Regions from separate parts of the Homo sapiens genome. Here all the other regions are linked to region 3. Evidence: promoter capture Hi-C in 16 types of primary human blood cells and fetal thymus (Javierre and others, 2016). All regions are on one chromosome and are shown on one strand. Each heading gives the region's core, a stretch centred on a gene start or on the middle of the fragment in contact. The rest is flanking DNA. Distances are from core to core; before and after follow the strand shown. Region 1 holds the start of PWWP2A (PWWP domain containing 2A). Region 2 has its middle 54 kb from the start of LINC01845. Region 3 holds the start of MAT2B (methionine adenosyltransferase 2 non-catalytic beta subunit). Region 4 overlaps UBLCP1 (ubiquitin like domain containing CTD phosphatase 1). Region 5 overlaps TTC1 (tetratricopeptide repeat domain 1). Region 6 overlaps RARS1 (arginyl-tRNA synthetase 1). Region 7 overlaps RNF145 (ring finger protein 145).

Region 1 (2,946 bases), core at 290-2,789, 3.4 Mb before region 3:
CTCTGCACTTCATATCTGCAAAAGAAGAGAATAAAAAGGTTAACTCCAGACTTAGAACAGGTTCTCTTCCCCTGTTGAAAGCAGAGCCCAAAAACATTTTAAATCAAAAAATGAAAATGTGGTTAAGCCAAATTTGTAGATGAACTCAACCTTCTTGTCCTTAATACATAAACTGAATCCCAGGTGTTAGAAGTTACTTGAACATTTTTATGCTACACCACCTTGACATTAAAGGATTTTTTAAAAATCTCCAATCTCTTCTTTAAACTTTTCTTAAACTATCATTAAAATTAGCAAAATATGCTTCTCTGTTGAATGGTTAACCTAACGGGAATGACTTCTAACCGTAAGAATTACAGTTAAAAGGTTCATTTTAACAAATGCTCTTCCCCCTGTAAGGAGTGACAGGTAACCTTTTGGGAACCCCAATGTACACACCCCTTTCTCCAATCCCGCTAAAGTTAAACGTTAGAGGACAGACAAGTGCCTCCTCGCAAGCAATGCCCCCCGCCCCCCCGTCCCCCCGTCCAACACTCCGTTCTCTGCAAAAATCCATCTGCATCTTGCATTAACCCACCCGCCCAGTGACGGTGACTCCAGGCCAAGTCGCAGAAGAAGACCAGGCGTGAGGGGTGAGACCTGTGAGCCCATCTGCACCTGCACCCTCCCACCTGGTGGCACACCTGCCCCGCAGGCGCCCACCTGGGGCCGGGACCGCCCTCTCCCGGTCTCGCGCGCCTGCCCCACTCGGAGCGCGCGCCACGCGCCGCGCAGGACCAGAGGGCGGGGCCCCGGGCAGCGGGGAAGCGAGGGCTCGGGGAGAGGGGGCCGCCCGGGCTCACTCCCTCCCTGGGGACCCAGCGGACCGGAGGGTGCTGGGGGCGGGCGCGGTACCTTTTGGACAGATCCATGAGGACCCCGGAGAAGAGCTTCTCCCCGAAGCGGAACGACACGACAAGCGCGTCCTCAATGATGTGGTCCAGCGTGACCCGCACCTCCGAGCCCGGGATCAGTTGCGACACCGTGGAGTCCCCGCCCGCCGGCGGCACGAGCGCCGGGGCTACGGGCTGAGGCAGCGGCGGCTCCTCGCGCTCCTCGGGAGCCGGGGGCTGCTCCGGCGGCGATGCAGGAGAAGGTGGAAGTTCCGGCCCTCCCTGAGGCGCGGCTGCCGCCGACTCCGCCACCCGAACGGACAGTTTCTCCTCAGCCTCCAGCTCCGGCCCCACCGCCTCTGGGCTGCGGGCGAGCTCCCCCGGCGGCGGCGGTGGCGGCGGGAGCGGCGGCTCGTCGGCCTGAGGAGCGGATTGCTGCCCGTCAGTCTCGCCATCCGGCACAGACGCTTCAGTGGCCGTGACCGGGAGGGGGTCAGTGCCGGCCTCACTGCCGGGGATGGGCTCCATCTCCGGCTCGGCCTCGCCGGCGCCCCCCTCCCCGGGGGACGCTGCAGTCGCTGCCGCCTCTGCAGCCACGGCCGCCATTTTCTTCCTAGCTTCTCCCTCCTCCAACTCCGGCTGCAGCGGCGGCGGCGACAGCGCTGCTTGGTTCCCTGGGCCTTCCCCTCCCTCCCGCGAACACTTTCGTCCCGCCCTTTCCCTGATGCTCGTTTCTGGCACCTCGCCATTGGTTGCATTCTACACCCCTCCCGCACTTTTGATATTCCATTGGCCAGGGATGGACGTCTATCATCTAGTCAGTCCATCCTTCCCACGCAGAGTAGGAACTTCTCATTGGCCAGATGTGTTGTCAAGTGTGGAATCTGAGTGGAGGAATAGGGGGCGGAATCAAAGGGGGCGGGGGAAGTCACAAAAGAGGAGCCATATACTCATCGCCTCTTGCTATTGGCTGGAAGAGGAAATAAAGTTTTATGGTTGGCCTACGCTCCTGCCCATTATCAGCCAGGTCTTTGGAGGTGGGAGAAAGGATGGAATCATGTGGCGTGCCACTTCTTTCAAAGGCGGCCGAGGGGAGGAGTAACAAGGGAATGCGGGAGGGGAACCGCTTCCCAAGAATCTCTGCGCAGAGATCCTTAGAATAAATGTTATTTCTAGGCGCGGACTTCTTGCGGCCGCGTGTGGGCACGACAGGCTTCTTTGGGAAAGACAACTAAAGTTTGAAATACAATCCTACAGACACTTTTTGAGTGCCTACTATGCTAGTCACTGCACTAGGTGCTGGGGAATGGAATGTTCAAGACGTTCTCCATAACCTCATAGCAGCGGGCTCCAGCGGCCATGAGGAGTACGAGGAGTATTTTCCTTGACTTCTAGGAGTATGATGAGTATTTTCCTTGACTTCTCTCCACTTCCTAGGAACAAAGCACCTATTTATTAATATTTCAGAAATAGGAAAATGCTCATGAAAGAAGAGAGACACCATCCTCACTGGATTAAACTGATGACTGTTCCAGGAAGGAGTCTTGAGACATTGCTGGACTGATATGTGAACACTGCTTGTTCTCTCCAAATCCACTTGCAAAGTGGACGCACCTGGTCCCTGCTAAAGCCTTTTTCTTTCCTGGCTTCTCCAATGCCACGAGAACAAAAGATCTCTCACTTCAGTGTCCTGACGCCCCTACTTCTCTTACTTCCACATCAAGTCTTTTCGTTTGTCATCTCTGGAAGAATCTACTGAACCTATTTCTCTCAAATGGCACCACAGAGTCAGCCTTTTTTCTGGGAGAATGCCTGCAGGAGAGAGGGTAGAAAAACTGCTAGCAATGAAAGTAAAAAAAATAAAGTCCTGAAGAATAATTACAGCTAGTGTCTTTTGAGTACCATGTACCAGGCACTAATACAAACACTATAGCATATCATCTCAATCCTTAAAATTTTGAGGCACAAAGAGGGTGCCCAAGGTTACTCGGCTGGTAAATTGCATAGTCAGAATTTCAGTTTTACATGGAAAAGACTGAAAATAGCAATAAACAAATATCACCATATGCTCTGC
Region 2 (3,037 bases), core at 435-2,934, 4.1 Mb before region 3:
GGTCAATTAATCCCTCTAGGCATGAGTTTTCTCATTTATAAAAGGAAGACAATATCTCATAGCTGTTCTGAAAACAGACTTCAGTGCTGTCTGCTTCCAATCTTACTTTGCATAATTTGGAATCTCAGGCTCCCCAGGCACACAGCTTAAAGAACCTTTCAGTGAATCCCAATTGAGTTGTCCTTGTACCTAGTACATAGTAGATGCTCAGTGAACATTTGTTGACTTGCTGGCTGACTGAATCCACTTATGTAGATATGATCTAAAAGGAAGCATATGTGTAGGGAGCTATGTGCCTAGTACATAGTAGGCATTCCATAAATGTTTATTGGACAGATGAATGTGTACACACCTGACCACAAACTGTGGCAAAACAACTTGCTTGCTCCAAAATGCACACATTTTTTCCCCCACGTTGTACCGTAATGGTTGCTTTAGAAAACAAACTGAAATCCCTACTGACTGAGTCTCATGTTAGCACTGTTGCTAGAAAAAAAAAAAAACACCCCAGATTTCCACAAGTATTGTAGTTTAAACAATGCAAAGTTATTCTCTTACAGTTCTGTGGGTCTGACATGGTCTCACTGGGCTAAAATCAAGGTGTCAGCAGGGGTATGTGCCTTCTGAAAGCTCTAGGGGAGGATCTCTTTCCTTGCGCATTCAGGTCGCTGGCAAAATTCATTTCCTCTGGTTGTAGGACTGAGATGTTGTTTCCTTGCTGGCTATCACTGAGGGACATTCCCAGCTTCTAGAGGCCACCCGAATTCCTTGACTCACGCCCAATTCTGCCATCTTCAAAGTCAGAAACTCTTCTTTCCTCTCACCTCTCTGACTCATTTTTAAGGAAACTGACCCCGTTTTTAAGGACTCGTGGTTGGATTAGGCTGTCCTGGGTAATGCGGGATAATCTCAGAGTACTTAACCTTAATCTCATTTGCACAGTCCCCTTTGCTATGTCGTAACATATTCAAAGATTCTGGGGATTAGGTCATGGATATATTTGGAGGGGTTATTATTCTACCTATTGCAGCATCCATTATCACTTTAGAATGGAATGGTTTCTCAGAACAGGCAGTTGTCTGTCTCCCAGCAAAGAGCTCCAGAAAACTAGGCCAATGAAAGGGAAATTTGGATGAAGGCAAGAGAGGTGAGGCACTGGCAGTAAATGTGATGGCAGGCCTGCAAGGGATGCTACAGAAAGAGGTTCCTGGTTTCATGGAATCCAGGTTATTAAAAGAAGAAATATTCACAAATGCCAGGAAAGTTAAATTTCATGTCTCTTACAATTTCCCTTCAGATCAGTTCTGCCAAAGATAAAGCGATCTTCACCTCTGTGAAAAACAGTAATTCCTTTCTCCATGATGTTCATGATTTGGTTGATGGGTTATTGGTTCATCGCTGCAATTATAATTGAAGGACATTGTCTTTGCTGGTTTGGTGAAGCTTCCAGATGTTATTAGAAGGGGTGTTCCTTTAAGCTCACCCAGCATTCTCTCACTTATAGCTGGGCATTAGCTATACAAGAGCTATTTGGTCTCTGAGAGCAAAGGTTCAGCCACTAAGGAAGGACCTGGTGTCCAACGTAGGCCTTTAGATTATTTCTGGAGCTTGTCTCCAGGGCCTAAGAGGTGACTCTGGCAGGACACCATCTGTTTCAACCCTATTTTTTTTCTTCTTTCTGCCTCGGCAATCCTCTTTTTTTCTTTTTCTTCCTTTGTCTCTTCTCTCCTTTCTAGTGTTCTGATGTTTTAGGATCAAAATAATGAAAAAGAATAGAAACCATTTCAACTCAGAAAATAATTCAAAGATGGGAAAAAGGTGTGTACCAAATTCATTGCTCTAATCATTTCTGTTCTGATAAAAGGAGTTTACAGCAAAGGAATAACTTTTCTGTGTCTCTGAGGCTTTGGAAAAACAAGGCATCAAGAAGCTTTGGGGTGTGGTGGGTGTGGTGGGGCAGCCTACTGCTTGTTGAGGTAATGCAAACTAAGGAGAAAGAGGTGTTAGCTTCCTCCGAGGCCAGGGCGTTTTAGGCTGCAGGTAAACCATGGATGTGGTTCTACAGATGTTGCCACAACAGGAAGACAAAATCTCACAGCTAACAGAGGTCACAGCTTTTGGAAACAGTGGTTGCGACACAGAGGAAACTCCCCCTCCCAGCCCTACCCCAAGCACATCCTTGCTTCTCTCAGTCACGCCAGTTACACCAACAGGGGCAGCTCTGGGGAGGACATTTGGAAAATAGTCAAGAGAGGGTGAAACCGCTGGCATGATGTCACCAACAAGAGGCTACCCCCTGGGGAAACCTAACAGGAAAAAGGTAGTTGAGCCAGGAAAAGCCACCAGACCCTTTCTCTTGGCTTGAGGCATCATATACATTTGAATAATAATCAAATTAACAATGTAATATGACTGTTTAGCAACAATGATGTGCTAATCATGGTTTTACATGGATTATCTTTAGTCATTAAATTCTCTACATCCTAGAGATGCGGAAATTGAGAATGAGAGAGGTTATGAGAGCTTTGAAAGGCCACAGAGCATGTGTTGTGGCTGAGATTCAAGCCCAGCTTTACTGATTTTAAAGCTTGTCTTCTCTTTCCCTCCCTTGCTTCCTTTTTTTTTTTTTCAATTTTCTTTCTTGCTTCATGTGCTTTTTTTTTAAAGAAATAAAATGTTACCCCCTCATCGATAATCCCTTTGTGTCTCTGCTGTCTGCCCTGTCCCACCCGCCTGCCATCCTTGCCAGCAGCAGCCTCTCAATTGAGGTTAGAGTTTCTCTCCCACCCTTCATTATGCATGTTCATGGCTATAAACAATCAGTATGCATGTTTTAAAAATTTACGTATATGAGAAAGAGCTTAAAGTATTAATTTACGGAGAAAAAAATACAAATGGCTATTAACCATCAGAAAAGATTCATTAAAAAAAGAGTAATAAAAATTCAAACCACATTGAAGCTGGGTGCAGTGGTGCATTCCTGTAGCCCTAGCTACTTAGGAGGCTGAGGTGGGAGGGCGGCTTGAACCCAGGAGTT
Region 3 (3,329 bases), core at 393-2,892:
GATTTTCAAAAGCAGCCAAGTTAAATTCTTTCTGTTCCTCAAGACTAGGCTGCTCTGAGAATCAGAATGCTAATTGCATATGCTTGCCCTTAAACCTGCTTCACGTTGAAGAATGAAGAATTAATTTTCTTTTCTCCCATAGAAAGGTAAGATTACATCACGTGTTGCGACTAGAAACTTTAAACCGAATTCCCAGTTAAGAGAAAAAGTAGTAAGATGATCTTGGCTGCTCCCCCGGCCCTCTTCCCGCCCTCTTCTTTGTTGTCCCCTGATTATGCTTGTTTAGCGCTGGGGCAGTCCTCAAGGATTCCCTAAATAAAGCCAAACTAATGAACAGTAATAGCCTGTGTTTAAAAAAAAAAAAAATCGGAACATAAGAAACCTCAGGCTGTCTTCGATTACTGTTCTAGAGAAACTTTATGTTTACACGAATAAGGAAATGAGTTTTTGTTGGGGGTTGAGGAGGAAGGAAAGTCATGGTGTTCTGACGTGGAAAACTTCTTTAAAAGGCTGCTTAGTCTTTAGTTTGAAAATAAACCAAAAAGGTTTAGGAGTCGGGGAAAGGCCCTAGGAAAATCCAGACAGTGGTCACGTTTGTGGACGACGTTTAGAGCTTGCTATCCTGGGCACACAAGAACCCTTGGACTGTTCGGTGCAAAGTTGGCAAATCCTACACGGCCTGTGCCAGGGTTTACTTTCTGCATCAATTTCACAGGCGTCCAGCCTGGCTGAGGATTTTTTGCGGTTTTTAACTGGAAGGGAAATAAGTCGGCATCAGCACTTAGGGCTGCTTAACTTTTAAAAGGTGGTAGAACGCCCAGCCTTACACGCTGCTGCTTAAATTCTCGGTGCTCACCAAGGCTGGGCTCGTGTGGCCCAATCCTGCAATCCCCGAGGCGGTGTTTCTTAAAGAGTGGGCTTGATTCTGGTTAAACCCATTAAGAAGTCGGACCCCGGGCTCGTTTCTTGTTCTGTAATTATGGGTAAAGTCCAAGGATCTGCGTTTTGAAGAGGTACCTAAGTAGTTCATCTTCCTTCCCCCTACAACTTTTTATTTTTAATTAGTTAAAAATAGTTTTACATTTTTGATATCTCACACACAGGTTTTTTCTTTTTTTAAGCATCCCAGGAAGACAAATGGCTCAGACGCCAACCCTTTTATTTTTATTCCTTGTCTTTTTCTAAATCTTTCAAAACCCCCACCTAGAGCTCTAGAGATGTGTCCATTATGCTCTACCCACCTCCGCCCCCGCCCCCATGACTTTAAAATGCTTTTTATTCCACTTTTTATATTGCTCAGTCGATCCTCATGCACTGCGCAGTCTGCAAACTTGAAACTCAAGGCGATCCACTTCAATCTTTTCCCGAGTCAAGAAAAAAAGGAAAAAAAGTAGAATAAAAAGCACTCAAATAAAATCTCCGAAACAAAACCTGAATTCACTGCCTAAGGTCAGGGCCTTTCTTTTGTGTGTCGCTTTAAGCATCGGCGCGTGGGCTGGGGGCAGACCGCGCGTACCCGCCCTCTTTCTGGGGCGTCGGCGGAGCGTGGCCAATCAACGGGCGCGGCTATGGCAGCGGAAGCCGGAAGCGGCGAGCGGGGTCGTTCTGGGCCTAGGGGAGGCGGGCCGAGGGCGTCTGAGCTGAGGCCCGCGTCGATCCTGGGTTGGAGGAGGTGGCGGCCGCTGAGGCTGCGGCGTGAAGACGGCGGGCATGGTGGGGCGGGAGAAAGAGCTCTCTATACACTTTGTTCCCGGGAGCTGTCGGCTGGTGGAGGTGAGGGAGTCGGCCTGGGCGTCTCCGGTGGGAGCGGGGGCGCCGAGGGGGACGAGCCACCGGGGCTCGGGCGGCTTTGCAGGCGTATTCCGCCCGGGTCAGAGCCTCCGGCCGGGAGTGGTCTCACCGCCACCCTCCCAGCCCCGGATCCGAGGGGGGCGCCACCGAGTTTGTTTATCTCAGCGCACACGGGTCAGTGTTTTTTTCTTCCAGCCACTGCGGCAGGAAGCAAGTAGGTGGAGGTTTTACTTTCGAGTTCTGTCTCTGCTCCTGAGGACGAAGAGGTTTTTCAGAATTGTTTGTTTTGATTTTGGTTTTCCCCGTTTATTCATCTTTGGTTCGTATTTCTCGATCTTACAAGTTCGTAGGTTTGAGAAAGAACAGGAAAAGGTGACTTCTCACAAATAACAGTGCTGGAGATGACAACTTATTGAACTCTTAAGTTCTCAGCACTATGTTATGCACTTGACGGGCATTACTTTAATCCTCCACTGTGAGATACTTGTTATTGCCTCATTTTGTAGACGAGAAAACGGGCATAGAGGGTGAGACATTGGCCCAGGTTCATTCCGTAAGGTTGGAGCCTGGAATTCAGATACAGGTTTGTGTGACTGTCTTGGGCTTTGAACCACTACGGAGTTTCCCTGAAGGAAGATTATGGTGATGATTGGAAGATCCATCTCTGGTGCCCCCCTCGCCCCCGTCCCATCCTGCTCCATTCCACTTAAGGGCCTCCAGCATTAATCTGTCCACAGAACATATCCAACCCTGGGGATAAGAACACTACTAATGCCCAGACCATGTCTTTTGGAGAGAGTAGAGAATATAGGAGATGGCTGTTTCTGTTATTGCAAAGTTTTCATGCTTCCAAATTTACTTAGGGTTTTCAAATCACTTTGGTTCTTTGAGGGTAAAGTTAGGATAAATGGTCTATTAAACCTCTATGTTCCTAGGTCCTCCAGACCGTGCTGAGTGCATGTTACATACGTTTACATTTATATGTATGCATTTGTATGTGTACGTGTGCATATAAAGCTTAATCTACTTTCACAAAAAGAAGTTCAGTATAAAAATGAAAATAGCTTTTCGTGTTTTCCTTCATTAAAAATGAAACAACGAAGAGCTTGGCACAGACTTACTGCTCTCAAAACCTGTAGAATTAAAGCTTACTGACTCATGAGAACGAGAACTGTCTCATAGTTAACGTTAGAGAAGCATCCTGGAGTGGTTGTTGTTAGTAATACTGTCTGTGGAGCACAGTAGCGTCGCAGTAGAAGTTAGACCAATCCCACCTAAGTAGTCAGAGAATCTTAAAAAGTAAAGCCCAGTAATGTTTACCTTAAGGGTCTGTTTCTGGGGAATTAAAAAATTAAACATGGAACTGTGCCAAGTTTTAAAGTTTCCAAAAACGACAAGGTATTTACCACTGAAATTTGGGAAAACCACATACTAATAGTATTCCATTCTTTACTTTTCTAGAACATTTTTAGTAGACATTAATGCAGGTGTGCTAAAGTAGAAATCACTGTCCCAGAGTACTGTGTTGGACCATTTGG
Region 4 (2,943 bases), core at 8-2,507, 4.2 Mb before region 3:
CGTGGCTTGCACTGCGGCGGGCTGGGGATAGTGTCTGTCCTAGTCTGACGCCCAGGCCCCTAGCCCCGGCCCGCTTAGTCGCGGGGGCCGCTGTCCTCCCATCCAGCAGTCTAGCCTATTTGGAGGGCTTTCTGTTTCCCAGTGGGTTTTGCGTCCCCAAACTTCATTCCTCCGTCTTCTCAGGCTTGTCCATCCCTCCCCTCAACCTCCTTGTTGAAGGCATCCCGGCCTTTTTGGTTCTGGAGCCTCCACCTGCCTCCTAATGCTCCCCTAAGTCAGTTAGCACAGCCCCCGACCCTGCACCACCTCGCAGTTGTTGCTGGTGTGCGGTTCTCGCCGGAGTTCTTAGTGCTTCACGGTTATCTTTTGCTGGGATTGTTGAAAGTTAACCTCCCGTTAATTCCCAAAGTGTTACTTTTACTGCTATACTTTAAAATTTCTTCATTTGCCACTTTTTAGGTTTGTGGTCCCGGGCAAGTTTAATTTCTTTTCAGGATTCTCATTTGTATAATGAGGACAACAGCTGTTGGTTCAGGATTGTGAAGCTTCAATGAGATAATTGTTTAGCATGTTTTTATTCCATCATGAACACCATTTGTATTGTGTTTTACAGTTTACAAAGTGCTGTCACAGGTGTTACTTCATACCTTAACACTACTCCTGTCCAGTGAATATTAGTAGCCTCATCTTGTTGAGAAGACTGAGGCCAAGAGGTGGATTGACTAGGCAAAGTCAACACAGTATGTTAGGTAGAACTCCAACCTAAACAGCTATTCTTGACCCTAGGTTGACCATATGGAAGTGTATTCTTTGCTTGCTTGTTTGGGTTTGCCAACTTCACTCCTCCCCACACCCCAAATCATTTTTCAGCTTATAAATCTGATGGGATCTGAAATGATACAAAATACTAAGAAAGAAGGTTAAATGTGAAAGCAAAATAGCTCATGCATTTATATCACACTGCTTCATTGGTGTGAACGGTCTTAATGATGAAATAAGGTTCAGTAACTTTTAAACAAATCTTAAAGACATATGCATTTACAATTTTTATGGTGTTTGTTTCGCTTGGCCCTTTAAGGCATTTGCCAACTTGGAATTTCCACTTGTGGGATAGGTGCTTCGTAACGTTTTTATGCTGCTTTATTAACCATATAGAGCCCATGCCCTCTGGCACATTTTTTTTAAGGCTGAAAACATTGAAGAGCCTGTAGTACTGACTCTCAAATTTGAGCATTCATCAGAGGTGAGGAGGACTGACCTTGTTAAAACACAGATTCCTAGGTCCCTTCTCTCCACCCCAATTACATTTCTACCAAATTACCAAGTGAGGTCAATGCTGTTCGTTAGCCCAGGGACCATGCTTTGAAAACCACTAGTCTAGAAGAGCAATCACTTGTCCAGGGTCACCTGGAACTCAGATGATTTCACTCCAAACTCTGCACTACTACGCATCACAATATATGCGATATTAGTGCTGGTTGCCTTTCTAGCTCTCGTAGGATTCCCTTTTATTCTTATGTCTTACAGAAAATATTTAAACTGTATTTCAGTTTAACTCAAAAGGTCCACTTTTAATTGAAGAATATAACATTTGTTATAGTTCTGTCTAAAATGGAATACGTTACCCTAAATTAAGACACTTGCTTTACATTTTCAGTAGAACACATTGTAAACATAGGAGTAAATATACATTTATAGTTCATATTTGTATTCATATATGAGTAAATATAAATATGAATTTATGGCTCTCTCTTCTAATTGGCCTTTTAGTAGGAGACACTGTTTTTAAATTATTTTTGGAAGTGGAGATTAAAAATTTAACCTCTTTCTTGCAGTTGGTCCTAATAGTTGCATGAAGAGTGCAATCAAATGTTTCATCAAATAAGTGAAAGCATTGGAAATACCAATACCTTGAGATTAGAAAATCCAGTTCTCTGGACTGTGGGAGGAATGAGTTTAATGAAAAATAGAAAGCTTTATGCAGGAAGAGACATATGTTTGGTTATTTACATGAGTGGCAGCCACTATATAATCTTTGTGTGCTTAGATCTGTACCCATGGGTTTTGTATTTTCTGATTGATATGGTTTGGCTGTGTCCCTACCAAAATCTCAACTTGAATTGTATCTCCCAGAATTCCCACTTATTGTGGGAGGGACCCAGTGGGAGGTAATTGAATCATGGGGGCCGATTTTTCCCGTGCTATTCTTGTGAATAAGTGAATAAGTCTCATGAGATCTGATGGATTTATCAGGGGTTTCCGCTTTTCTGTCTTCCTCATTCTCTCTTGCCACTGCCATGTAAGAAGTGCTTTTTACCTTCTGCCATGATTCTGAGGCCTCCCTAGCCATTGTGGAACTGTAAGTAGCTGGGATTACAGGCGCCCACCACCACCTCTGGCTAATTTTTTTTTGTATTTTTAGTAGAGATGGGGTTTCACCACATTGGCCAGGCTGGTCTTGAACTCCTGACCTAAGGTGATTCACCTGCCTCAGCCTCCCAAAGTTCTGGGATTACAGGCATGAGCCACTGTGGCCAGCCTTGGGTATGTCTTAGCAGCATGAAAACAGACTAATACGGTAAATTGGTACTAGTAGAGTGGGGCATTGCTGAAAAGATACCCGAAAACGTGGAAGCAACTTTGGAACTGGGTAACAGGCAGAGGTTGGAACAGTTTGGAGGGCTCAGAAGAAGACAGGAAAATGTGGGAAAGTTTGGAACTTCCTAGAGACTTGTTGAATGGCTTTGCCCAAAATTCTGATAGCTATATGAACCATAAGGTCCAGGCTGAGGTGGTCTCAGATGGAAATGAGGAACTTGTTGGGAACTGGAGTAAAAGTGACTCTTGTTATGTATTAGCAAAGGTACTGGCAACATTTTGCCCCTGCCCTAGAGATTTGTGGAACTTTGAACTTCAGAAAGATGATTTAGGGTATCTGGCAGA
Region 5 (3,296 bases), core at 268-2,767, 3.5 Mb before region 3:
CTTAGGGGAGGGTGGCACTGGGAGCAGCCAAATGTGTGACCGTCTGAGAGGGAAGCATTGCAGACAAAGAGAGCAGTTGAATAAAGCCCTAAAGTAACAACAAGTTTGGTGTTTTGGCATGTTCAAGGAATGGAAGAGCCGATGGCTGAAGCATGATGATTAAGGAAGAGAGTGGGCTGATAGTAGGCAAGGGTCTGATTATGGAATAGTTCCTAAGCCGTAGTAAAGAACTTGAAGTTTTTTCCAAGTGCAGAAGGAAACAGATGGATAATTTTAAGCCAGGGAGAGACGGAAGTTATTTACATTTTAATAAGAGAATTCAGTTCTTATACAGAGAATGGAGGGGTATGAGGATGGAGGAGGGACATGAATAGAACATTTGAGCCCAATTAGGCTCTAATGCAGTAGCCCAGTGAAGATGATAGTAGCTTGAACTGTGGATCTGAAGAGAAGTGTATGATTTTGGGATATATTTCAGAGGTAAAGCAGACCACACATTGCAGTGGATTCGATTGGCGGGATGGAGTGAGACGTTAGAATGATTCCTTGTCTTCAGCTACTGGATGGATGGTGTGGCCTTTATTAATATGAAGAAGATGAAGGAACTTTGAACTTATCCAGGTTCTGGTGATTTAATTCTTTCCTGCAAACAAACATTTTTTATTTGTAAGCCAAAATGCAGATTTAGTCATTTCAATGGGTTTGCTCCCTTTCACTAGTGGTTTGCAAATGGTATTCATTTACATGTACACATAAGGGATCCAAAAGTCTGTTGCTTGGTGAACATGGATTCAGAATGCCTGGTATCTGGGATTTTAAAACATTAGGCTCTGAAAGTTTTAAGGATTATTCTTTAAGGTCATTTTCTCTTTAGGAACCATTATCAAAGCTTAGAAGTTTCAGTTTAGAACAGATGTTATATTTCAGTCTCTTCCCTCTGTCATTTTTCCTAAATTCCACATTACTTAATCTTTTGGATTTCCATGTTTCTGCCACCCTATTGCACCATTTTCATAATCTAATTAATGTTGTGGCTGTGGATGTGTTTGCAGGGAATACTCTCGATTGCTTCCAAAAAGTTCTCAGTAACTTCTTCCATAGTGGCCTGCATAGTCCTGTTAACGTCATGAGCAACCTTTCTGATTTTGTTGTTTCCCTTTTCTTTCATTCTTTTTTTTTTTTTTTTTTTTTTTGAGATGGATATTCCCTCTCTGTTGCCCAAGCTGGAGTGCAGCGGTGCGATCTCTGCTCACTGCAACCTCCGCCTCCCGGATTCAAGCGATTCTCTCTCTGCCTCCCGAGTAGCTGGGGCTACAGGCGTGTGCCACCACACCCAGCTAATTTTTGTATTTTTACTAGAGACTGGGTTTCACCATATTGGCCAGGCTGGTCTCGAACTCACATCATGATCCACCCACCTCGGCCTCCCAAAGTTCTGGGATTATAGGCATGAGCCACTGTGCCCTGCCTCCTGCCTCCCTTTTCTTTCATTTCTTGTTTTCTTTTTGTTGTTGTTGTTTTCTGTTTGTTTATTTTGAGACAGAGTCTTGCCCTGTCGCCCAGACTGGAGTACAGTGGCATGATCTTGGTTCACTGCAACCTCTGCCTCCCAGGTTCAAGTGATTCTCCTGCCTCAGCCTCCCAAGTAGCTGGGATTACAGGTGCCCACCACCACACCCAGCTAATTTTTGTATTTTTAGTAGAGACGGAGTTTCACCATGTTGGCCAGGCTGGTCTCGAACTCCTGACCTCAAGTGATCCGCCCGCCCCAGCCTCCTTTTCTTTCATTTCTAATAGGCATCCTTTGGAACTAAGGTGGTCAGTTTTACCAACTTCTTAGAGTTACCACTGTTGAACTTAATGCTGTCTACAAACGATTAAATCAAATCCTAGAAGGAGCTTAGATTTCTGATCCCAAGTTTGTTTATTTTTATTTTTGTAGAGGCCCTTTCACTTGGCCTCCCAAAGTGCTGGGATTACAGGAATGAACCACCCTGCCTGGCCTGATGCTAAGTTTAAACCAGTGGAAATAAGGGTTGCTTGCTCTAAAACAGGGGTCGTCAACCCCCGGCCATGTACTGATACCAGTCTGTGGCCTGTAAGGAACCCAGCCACACAGCAGGAAGTGAGCAGCAGGCTAGTGAGCGAAGCTTCATCTGTATTTACAGCCACTTCCCATCGCTTGCATTACTGTCTGAGCTCCACCTCATGTCATATCCATGGTAGCATTAGATTCTCGTAGGCTTGTGAACCCTGTTGTGAATTGCACATGCAAGGGATCTGTGTTGCCTGCTCCTTACAAGAATCTAATGCCTGATAGTCTATCACTGTCTCTCATCACCCCCAGGTAGGACCGTCTAGTTGCAGGAAAACAAGCTTAGGGCTCCCACTGATTCTACATTATGGTGAATTGTATAACTATTTGATTATATATTACAGTTTAATAATTATAAAGTACACAATAAATGTAATGTGCTTGAATCATTATGAACACCCCCTTCCCCAAGACCCTAGTCCGTGGAAAAATAGTTCCCCACAAGAGCAGTCCCTGGTGCCAAAAAGGGTAGGGACCGCTGCTCTAAAACATTTGGAAGTTAGTGAGGTGTGTTTACATTATTTGCTGGCAGAAAAGTTAAAATGACGTTCAGTATTTCCTGTGTTTATTAAGAAAGGTCACTTTGTGTAGATCAGTGGTTTCCAGACTTTATTGTGTCTAAGCATCACAGGAAATGTATTAACCATGCACAGCCTGAGAAGTGTCTGACACCACACACCTGTGAGGCAACAACCAGGCATCTGTTTTGTTAGCAAGCCTCCCAGGTAATTTTGATATAGGAAGAACTGTGGCCACACCATGGGAAACAGATCCAGATGGACACAGATGACTAAGCTTCCAAAACAAGAAGTATTGACCTAACCCGTACATTGACTGCATCCAACATCGGAAGAACTGAATAGGAGGTTTTCTTTTACCTACATCCGTTGATCAAGGTCTAAAAACAACTTGTTGGGCCGAATTTAAGCAGTCCTGACATAGAAAATTTATTTCTGTTAAAGATTGAGTTTTGGGAAATAGAATTTTCTGATTTAAGAAACAAGGGACTATTTCCAAGATTAATTCCTCATAGATCAGTCATTTTTTTCCTCAGAAGGATAACACCTACTGAGAGGCAGGTTCTAACTGTGGCTTAGATCCAAAGATCCTCCCTCATGCCTCCCTAGAGGACCTGTAAAGGTGACTTGTGGAAAGAACAGATATGTCTTTATGTATGTAAAGCAAGTGATATCTGATTTCA
Region 6 (3,241 bases), core at 296-2,795, 5.0 Mb after region 3:
CTCATGCCTGTAATCCCAGCACTTTGGGAGGCCGAGGTGGGCGGATCACGATGTCAGGAGATCGAGACCATCCTGGCTAACACAGTGAAACTCCGTCTCTACTGAAAATACAAAAAAACTTAACCGGCTGTGTTGGGGGGGGTCCCTGTATTCCTAGCTACTCGGGAGGCTGAGGCAGGAGAATGGCGTGAACCCGGGAGGCGGAGCTTGCAGTGAGCAGAGAGCACACCACTGCACCACAGCCTGGGCGACAGAGTGAGACTCCGTCCCCCTACAAAAAAAAAAAGTGAAAGCGGAACAGTTCCATTACCTTTTATGCCCAGGTGGGGAGGGATGGTAGGAAGATAGTTCACAGTACTCTGTCCTGTTACGGCTGTATACTTAATCAGCAGTCACAAAGTACAAGTTAGTCAAGTAAATTGGCAAGCTCTTTACATTTCTGAGCCATTTATTTATCGGTATGTATTTATCTTTGCCTCACTTGGTTGTGATAATCATGAAGGTAATTTCTGAAAAGTGTTTTTAGCTCAGCTCCTGGAACATAATGTATGCTCATTTTTGGCAATTTGGTTTTGGCTGTAGCTATCTCCCAGTAAGTATTCTGAAATTTCAGGTGAGGAACTCCCCCTGAGTTTTGCAGTTTAAGTTGGAAGCTTTATTTCTTTCTGAATTGACATGTCTTTAGTTTTAGATGTTAAACTACAAAGCCTGGTCTGGTCTAGTCTAGGACCTAAGACACTGGAAACAGGAAGAAATGGGAAAATTGTTTAGTCCCAGAAAGGGTGAAAGGCAGACCCTTGAGCTATTTTGAATGTGACAAAGGACATTTGGGTTTTTTAAGAGTCCCAGGTCATAGGATTTGGGAATAAAAGCAGGTTGGTCAACCTGAAACTTAACTACTCTTGCTAAATCAGAGTGTTTATCGAGCCAAAGAAAAGAACTAGGGATATGAGACATGAGGCATATCCCATTATATACTTACTCCGATTCCTGTCTCCCAAAACACATGTATGTGTGGTTAATATATTCTTTTTCTTTTTCTTTTTTTTTGAAACAGAGTCTCGCTCTGTCAAGCAGACTGGAGTGCAGTGGCACGATCTCGACTCACCGCAACCTCAGCCTCTGGGATTCAGGCAATTCTCCTGCCTCAGCCTCCCAAGTAGCTAGGATTACAGGCATGCGCCACCATGCCTAGCTAATTTTTGTATTTTTAGTAGAGACAGCGTTTCGCTATGTTTGCCATGCTGGTCTTGAACTCTTGGCCTCAAGTCATCCACCTGCCTAGGCCTCCCAAAGTGCTGGGATTACAGGCGTGAGCCACCATGCCTGGCCAATATTTTCTTATTAAGGATAATATGCTAACGTCAGCAAAAATCTCAGAGGAGAAAGAAACACAGCTCATCAAAGGGAACATTAATGATTCCCATGGTCTATGCCACGCCTTGGTAGAGAGGGGAAATGTGGAAGTAAGTTTATGGACTGAAAAAAGTGCTTTTTTTCCCACAGGAAGAAGAGATTAAATCTCTGACTGCTGAAATTGACCGGTTGAAAAACTGTGGCTGTTTAGGAGCTTCTCCAAATTTGGAGCAGTTACAAGAAGAAAATTTAAAATTAAAGTATCGACTGAATATTCTTCGAAAGGTGAGTACTTTGGGTTCCAGTTTTATTCTCCAGTTTGAATCATTATAGCTTTTTTAAAGCCTTTGTTACCAAAGATTCTGGAAGTATATCCTATGGAATTTGGAAAAGAAGCATAGAAACCCTATTCTTTTCCCTGCATTAGACAACTTAGGACTGAGGTAGTTGGTGCAAATAGTGACAAGTTGGTGTTGTCCTGTCCTTCAGGACTCTTTGAAATGTTTCATCCTGCTAACTGTTTGGCTAACTTAAAGTAGGATTTAGGTAGGGTTGAGGCATTTCTTTTTAAAAATTTATTTATTATTTTTTGAGACAGGGTGTCTGTCACTCAGGCCAGAGTGTGGTGGCATCATCACGGCTCAGTACAGCCTCAACCTTCAGGCTCAAGCAGTCATCCCACCACAGCCTCCTGAGTGGCTGGGACTACAGGCGTGTGCCACCACATCCAGCTAATTTTTTTTTTTTAATAGAGATGGGGTCTTGCTGTGTTGGCCAGGCTGGCCTCGGAATTCCTGGCTTCAAGCAACCCTCCCTGTCTTGGCCTCCCAAAGTGTTGGAATTACAAGTATAACCTACTGCACCCAGCAAGGTTGAGGCATTTCTTTCAACAGTTTATGCCCATGCCTTTTTTAAAAAAACATGTTTGATTTTTAAATCATTGCCTCTATCATAAAGGAAATATTTGAAAATACACCTGCATATTTTCTCTGCCCTAAGTTGGTTATTTTACAGTTTTATATCTTACATAATCATTTGGGGTTTTTTCCACCTGGTATTTCAAAACACTTTTTTTCCCCATGAAGCTTGTGCTATGTTTATTTAATGGTCTCATGATTTAACAGTGTTTTACCAATTTTGTTTTAAAAAAATGAACTTGCTGCAGTTTTTTGGCCTGCCTTTCGTATTTGGTGATGACATATCCCAGAGTGTTGACCTCATTCCCATAATTATTCTCCTGTGTGTATATATTACTGTCAGACAAACTCTGCAGGCATTACATCCTTTTCCCAAAGCTGATTGATCCATTTACTCACCTTAGACTCTATCTTCCCCACTCCCATGACATCTCTCATATTATCTTTTTTTTTTTTTTTTTTTGAGACGGAGTCTCACTCTTGTTGCTCAGGCTGGATTGCAATGGCACAATCTCAGCTCACAATAACCTCCACCTCCCAGGTTCAAGCAATTCTCCTGCCTCAGCCTCCCCAGTAGCTGGGATTACAGGCATGCACCACCACACCTGGTTAATTTTGTATTTTTAGTAGAGACGAGGTTTCTCCATGTTGGTCAGGCTGGTCTGGAACTCCTGACCTCAGGTGATCTGCCTGTCTCGCCTTCCCAAAGTGCTGGGATTACAGGCGTGAGCCACCGTGCCCGGTGTCCATATTTCCTATTTGTGATCTGCTATGCTCGAGTCTCATATTACCTATATGTGATCTGCTGTGCTTGTCTTTGAGTCTTCTAGAATCACAAAATTCCTTTTCCATAGAATCTTCCCAAAAGAATCTCACCTTTCTCGTTATGTCATTCATTCTACACTTATATATGTTTAATTCTCTGTTATATTTATTTTAATTCAAAAGTATTATTAAATGTCTAATAT
Region 7 (2,940 bases), core at 302-2,801, 4.3 Mb before region 3:
CAGTAAAATATAATCTAAACCCTCAACAAATAAGACAGCGTGTTAATAGTTCACAAACAGGCAGACAGACTAAAGGAAGAGAAGTTCAAAAATGAAACAAAATATATGTGAGAATTCAGTATATAATGAGAAAAAAATGGACTAAATAGGTGAGGATGACTGTGTGGTTATCTAGAAAAAATAAAATTATACCTATAACACACTATTCATACAGATAAATGAAGCAAAGATTTAAATGTAAAAATAAACCCACAAAAATAGTAAGATAAAATACAACAGAATTCTTTATAAACTCAAGAATAAAGAAGGCTTTTCTAATTGACTCAAAATACTAAAGCTTAAAAACCTTCTAAATGTCAAAAAATCATAAGCAAAATCACTGAGTTGAAACTGGAAAAACTATTTTCAACTTATCACAAAGGATTAATTTCCCTAATGTATACCAAATTCCCACAAATTGGTAAAAAAAGAATCTCACAGAAAAGTGGGCAGGGTATATAAACTGACAACTCTCAGAAGAGAAAATACAGGTTTTTCTTAAGTATGTGTATGTTCAATTCATTCATAATAGAAATGCAAACTAAAACTACATTGAGTTAAAAAAATCAATTTTTCCACCTATTGGAGTAGCCAAAATATTTGTGGTAACAGGCTGTTTTGATAATATAGGATTGTAGGAACTCTCAACCACGGTTTTTGGAGGTACAAAATAGTAAAACCCTATGGAAAGTACTATCTGTCAACACTACAAATATATATAAGTTAACCCTTGAACAACATAGGATGGAACTGTGAGGGTCCACTTACATGTAGATTTTTTACAACCAAACTCTTATGGAATACAGTATTTGCAACATGCAAAACCCACGTATACAGAGGGCCAACCTTCTGCATACATAGTTCCACAGGGTCACTTGAGGGACCTGAGTATGCGCAGATTTTGGTATACGTGGGCATCCTGGAACCAACTTCCAGCATACACCGACGGACCACTGTACTCTTTAACCCAGCAACTTCGCTTCTAGTAACTTAGCCCCAGGTTATATTTGTACTTGTTGAAATTATAGCTATACAAAGTTATTTAGCACAACGCTGTACAAAATAGCAGAAGGTAGGCTATCTAAAATGTCCACCAATGGAGTAATTAGTTCAATAAATTATGGTATATCCATACGAAGATACTATGCCAACGTAAAATGCAATCGGGAAGAGGAGAAATGAGGCCTCGATATCTACTCAAGAGAGTCTTTAAGATCCGGCAGACTGTCATCATAAGAAAAAGAGCACAAAACTCTATTTCATAAATATCTAAAAGCAGTAGTTATGGCTCCACATACATCACAAACAAAAACCATGATTCAAAACCATGTATACCATGCTAACATCTGTATAAAAAGGGGGGAAATATACATTTTTTATATTTACTTATATATACATAAAAATATCTCTAGAATTATACAGAAAGAAATAAAAGCTACATGGTGTTCAGAGTGAGAACTCAGCGAATGAGTAACAGAGATGGGAGGGAGATACTTTTCATTAAATACTTTTTATGCTTTTTTATTTCTGAATGTAGATACATTATTTTATTAAGGTGAAATTTGATTTGTATTTGAGGGTGAAATTCTGTAAACAGGAGCATTACATAAACACTATGTAATATTTTGACAAAGGTAACTCCAACCAAAACATTGTTCAAGCTGAAAATATCTGTTCATGCAACCACTGAGCTTACTCTACTTTGGCATGGAGTAAGCATATTTAAGATGGCTCAACTAACTTTATAAAATTATAAACCAGATTATGAACTTCAATTGTACTCGAAAACATTCAATTTCTAAAATTAATATTCCTGGTTATCAGGCAGCTGTTTTTATAATAAATATTTCAACCTATTCAGAAACAATATATAAGCACATTTTTAAAACCACAGTATGTATGACTTTGCTGATTAATCTAAAAATCTAAGCCAAGTACCCAGTTGTTCTACAACTGACGGGAATTACTTTCCATAAATTGGCTAACATACAAAGCCTTTCATAAAAGGCTGAGAATTACAGTGTTTTGCAACATAAAGGAACTTTCCCATTTCAGAGACATTCCCAAGGTAGTGCTATCCACAAAAGATGAGTTTACTGAACCGAAACGTTTTGTTTCTAGTGCACCATCTCTTCTACTACATCATACTTCTTTCCACAACAGCTTACCTCTTAGGGATGTAAGGGGAACGTTCTCAGGGCTAAGTTTTAGAACCCAGAAAGTGATAAAAATAAATCTCAGAGAGACAGGACAACTCTTCATGACTTTATAAAAGATATATTTTGTGACAGGCAACTCTAATAATAAAATATTAGCAAAACCACTATAGTACCATTCAAACCATGTCTGGAACTCTGCAATCACAACATTAATAAAATATATTGCTATATACATTACAAATAAACCAAAACCTAAAAAGTAAGGATCATGATTTTTATTCTAGGTAAATTTTATCTGTTTCATGCTTGTATTTCTTGACTTTAATTTCTTCAATCTCTTATCATTATTTTTACCACTAACCCCATAGCATATCAATGATAGTTCCATTTTTCTTGAAAGGGGATTCAAGCAAAAAAAAAAAAAATTATAGTTCCAGGAGGATTTTTTTTATGGAACAAAGTATTATAGTATCATTTCCCAAATTTCATTTAACTGAACACTTTATCTTCAGCTGATGTTAATGTTTTCGTTTATCTCAGGGAACAATAAAGAATGTTGCATTTTAAAAAGCTTACTTTCTGAATTACTACCAAACCCCAAAACAAGGACAAATTAGAAGGGGCCAAATGTCTCTAAAAGTATTTCTCATTGTTTATATTTCATCATATTAAAATCTAGAATGTTTTCTTCTGCCTTCCAGTTTTATCCAGTAAAATAAATCCAATACTGCTTACTTTCTTG

What was found. The method cuts DNA at HindIII sites, captures the fragments that hold promoters and counts their contacts. A CHiCAGO score of 5 or more calls a contact.
Region 1: a contact is called between the fragment with the promoter of PWWP2A here and the fragment with the promoter of MAT2B in region 3, in 1 of 17 cell types (naive CD8 T cells). The highest score is 5.5, in naive CD8 T cells.
Region 2: a fragment that was not itself captured here is called in contact with the fragment with the promoter of MAT2B in region 3 in 1 of 17 cell types (total CD8 T cells); the score reaches 7.3 in total CD8 T cells.
Region 4: a contact is called between a fragment that was not itself captured here and the fragment with the promoter of MAT2B in region 3, in 3 of 17 cell types (activated CD4 T cells, total CD8 T cells and total CD4 T cells). The highest score is 11.0, in activated CD4 T cells.
Region 5: a fragment that was not itself captured here is called in contact with the fragment with the promoter of MAT2B in region 3 in 1 of 17 cell types (naive CD4 T cells); the score reaches 6.4 in naive CD4 T cells.
Region 6: a contact is called between a fragment that was not itself captured here and the fragment with the promoter of MAT2B in region 3, in 3 of 17 cell types (naive CD4 T cells, non-activated CD4 T cells and total CD8 T cells). The highest score is 16.8, in naive CD4 T cells.
Region 7: a fragment that was not itself captured here is called in contact with the fragment with the promoter of MAT2B in region 3 in 1 of 17 cell types (total CD8 T cells); the score reaches 7.3 in total CD8 T cells.

The regions. Positions count from the first base shown.
Region 1 is chr5:160,117,911-160,120,856 of GRCh38, forward strand. PWWP2A (PWWP domain containing 2A) reads right to left here and starts at 1,540. Exons shown (of 2, transcript NM_001130864.2): 1 at 895-1,540. The coding sequence starts at 1,478. RefSeq lists silencers at 536-955, 1,076-1,255, 1,356-1,455, 1,616-1,665 and an enhancer at 1,092-1,591. The HindIII fragment of the contact is 17,972 bases long and covers 1-2,946 here.
Region 2 is chr5:159,410,365-159,413,401 of GRCh38, forward strand. No RefSeq gene overlaps it. Among named protein-coding and RNA genes, the nearest start is that of LINC01845, 54 kb to the right of the region's middle. The HindIII fragment of the contact is 487 bases long and covers 1,442-1,928 here.
Region 3 is chr5:163,503,977-163,507,305 of GRCh38, forward strand. It overlaps MAT2B (methionine adenosyltransferase 2 non-catalytic beta subunit), which reads left to right and starts at 1,643. Exons shown (of 7, transcript NM_013283.5): 1 at 1,643-1,773. The coding sequence starts at 1,711. RefSeq lists enhancers at 1,376-2,182, 1,400-1,489, 1,530-1,649 and a silencer at 1,820-1,959. The HindIII fragment of the contact is 7,455 bases long and covers 1-2,806 here.
Region 4 is chr5:159,263,444-159,266,386 of GRCh38, forward strand. All of the region lies in intron 1 of UBLCP1 (ubiquitin like domain containing CTD phosphatase 1), which reads left to right. Among named protein-coding and RNA genes, the nearest start is that of UBLCP1, 1.6 kb to the left of the region's middle. RefSeq lists an enhancer at 1-87. The HindIII fragment of the contact is 1,429 bases long and covers 544-1,972 here.
Region 5 is chr5:160,018,411-160,021,706 of GRCh38, forward strand. All of the region lies in intron 2 of TTC1 (tetratricopeptide repeat domain 1), which reads left to right. LOC124901124 (a long non-coding RNA gene) reads left to right here. Exons shown (of 2, transcript XR_007059025.1): 1 at 1-621. Among named protein-coding and RNA genes, the nearest start is that of TTC1, 11 kb to the left of the region's middle. The HindIII fragment of the contact is 1,261 bases long and covers 888-2,148 here.
Region 6 is chr5:168,487,096-168,490,336 of GRCh38, forward strand. It overlaps RARS1 (arginyl-tRNA synthetase 1), which reads left to right. Exons shown (of 15, transcript NM_002887.4): 2 at 1,507-1,641. Among named protein-coding and RNA genes, the nearest start is that of RARS1, 2.2 kb to the left of the region's middle. The HindIII fragment of the contact is 1,788 bases long and covers 652-2,439 here.
Region 7 is chr5:159,200,312-159,203,251 of GRCh38, forward strand. The region is part of intron 2 of RNF145 (ring finger protein 145); the gene reads right to left. Among named protein-coding and RNA genes, the nearest start is that of RNF145, 7.8 kb to the right of the region's middle. The HindIII fragment of the contact is 2,432 bases long and covers 336-2,767 here.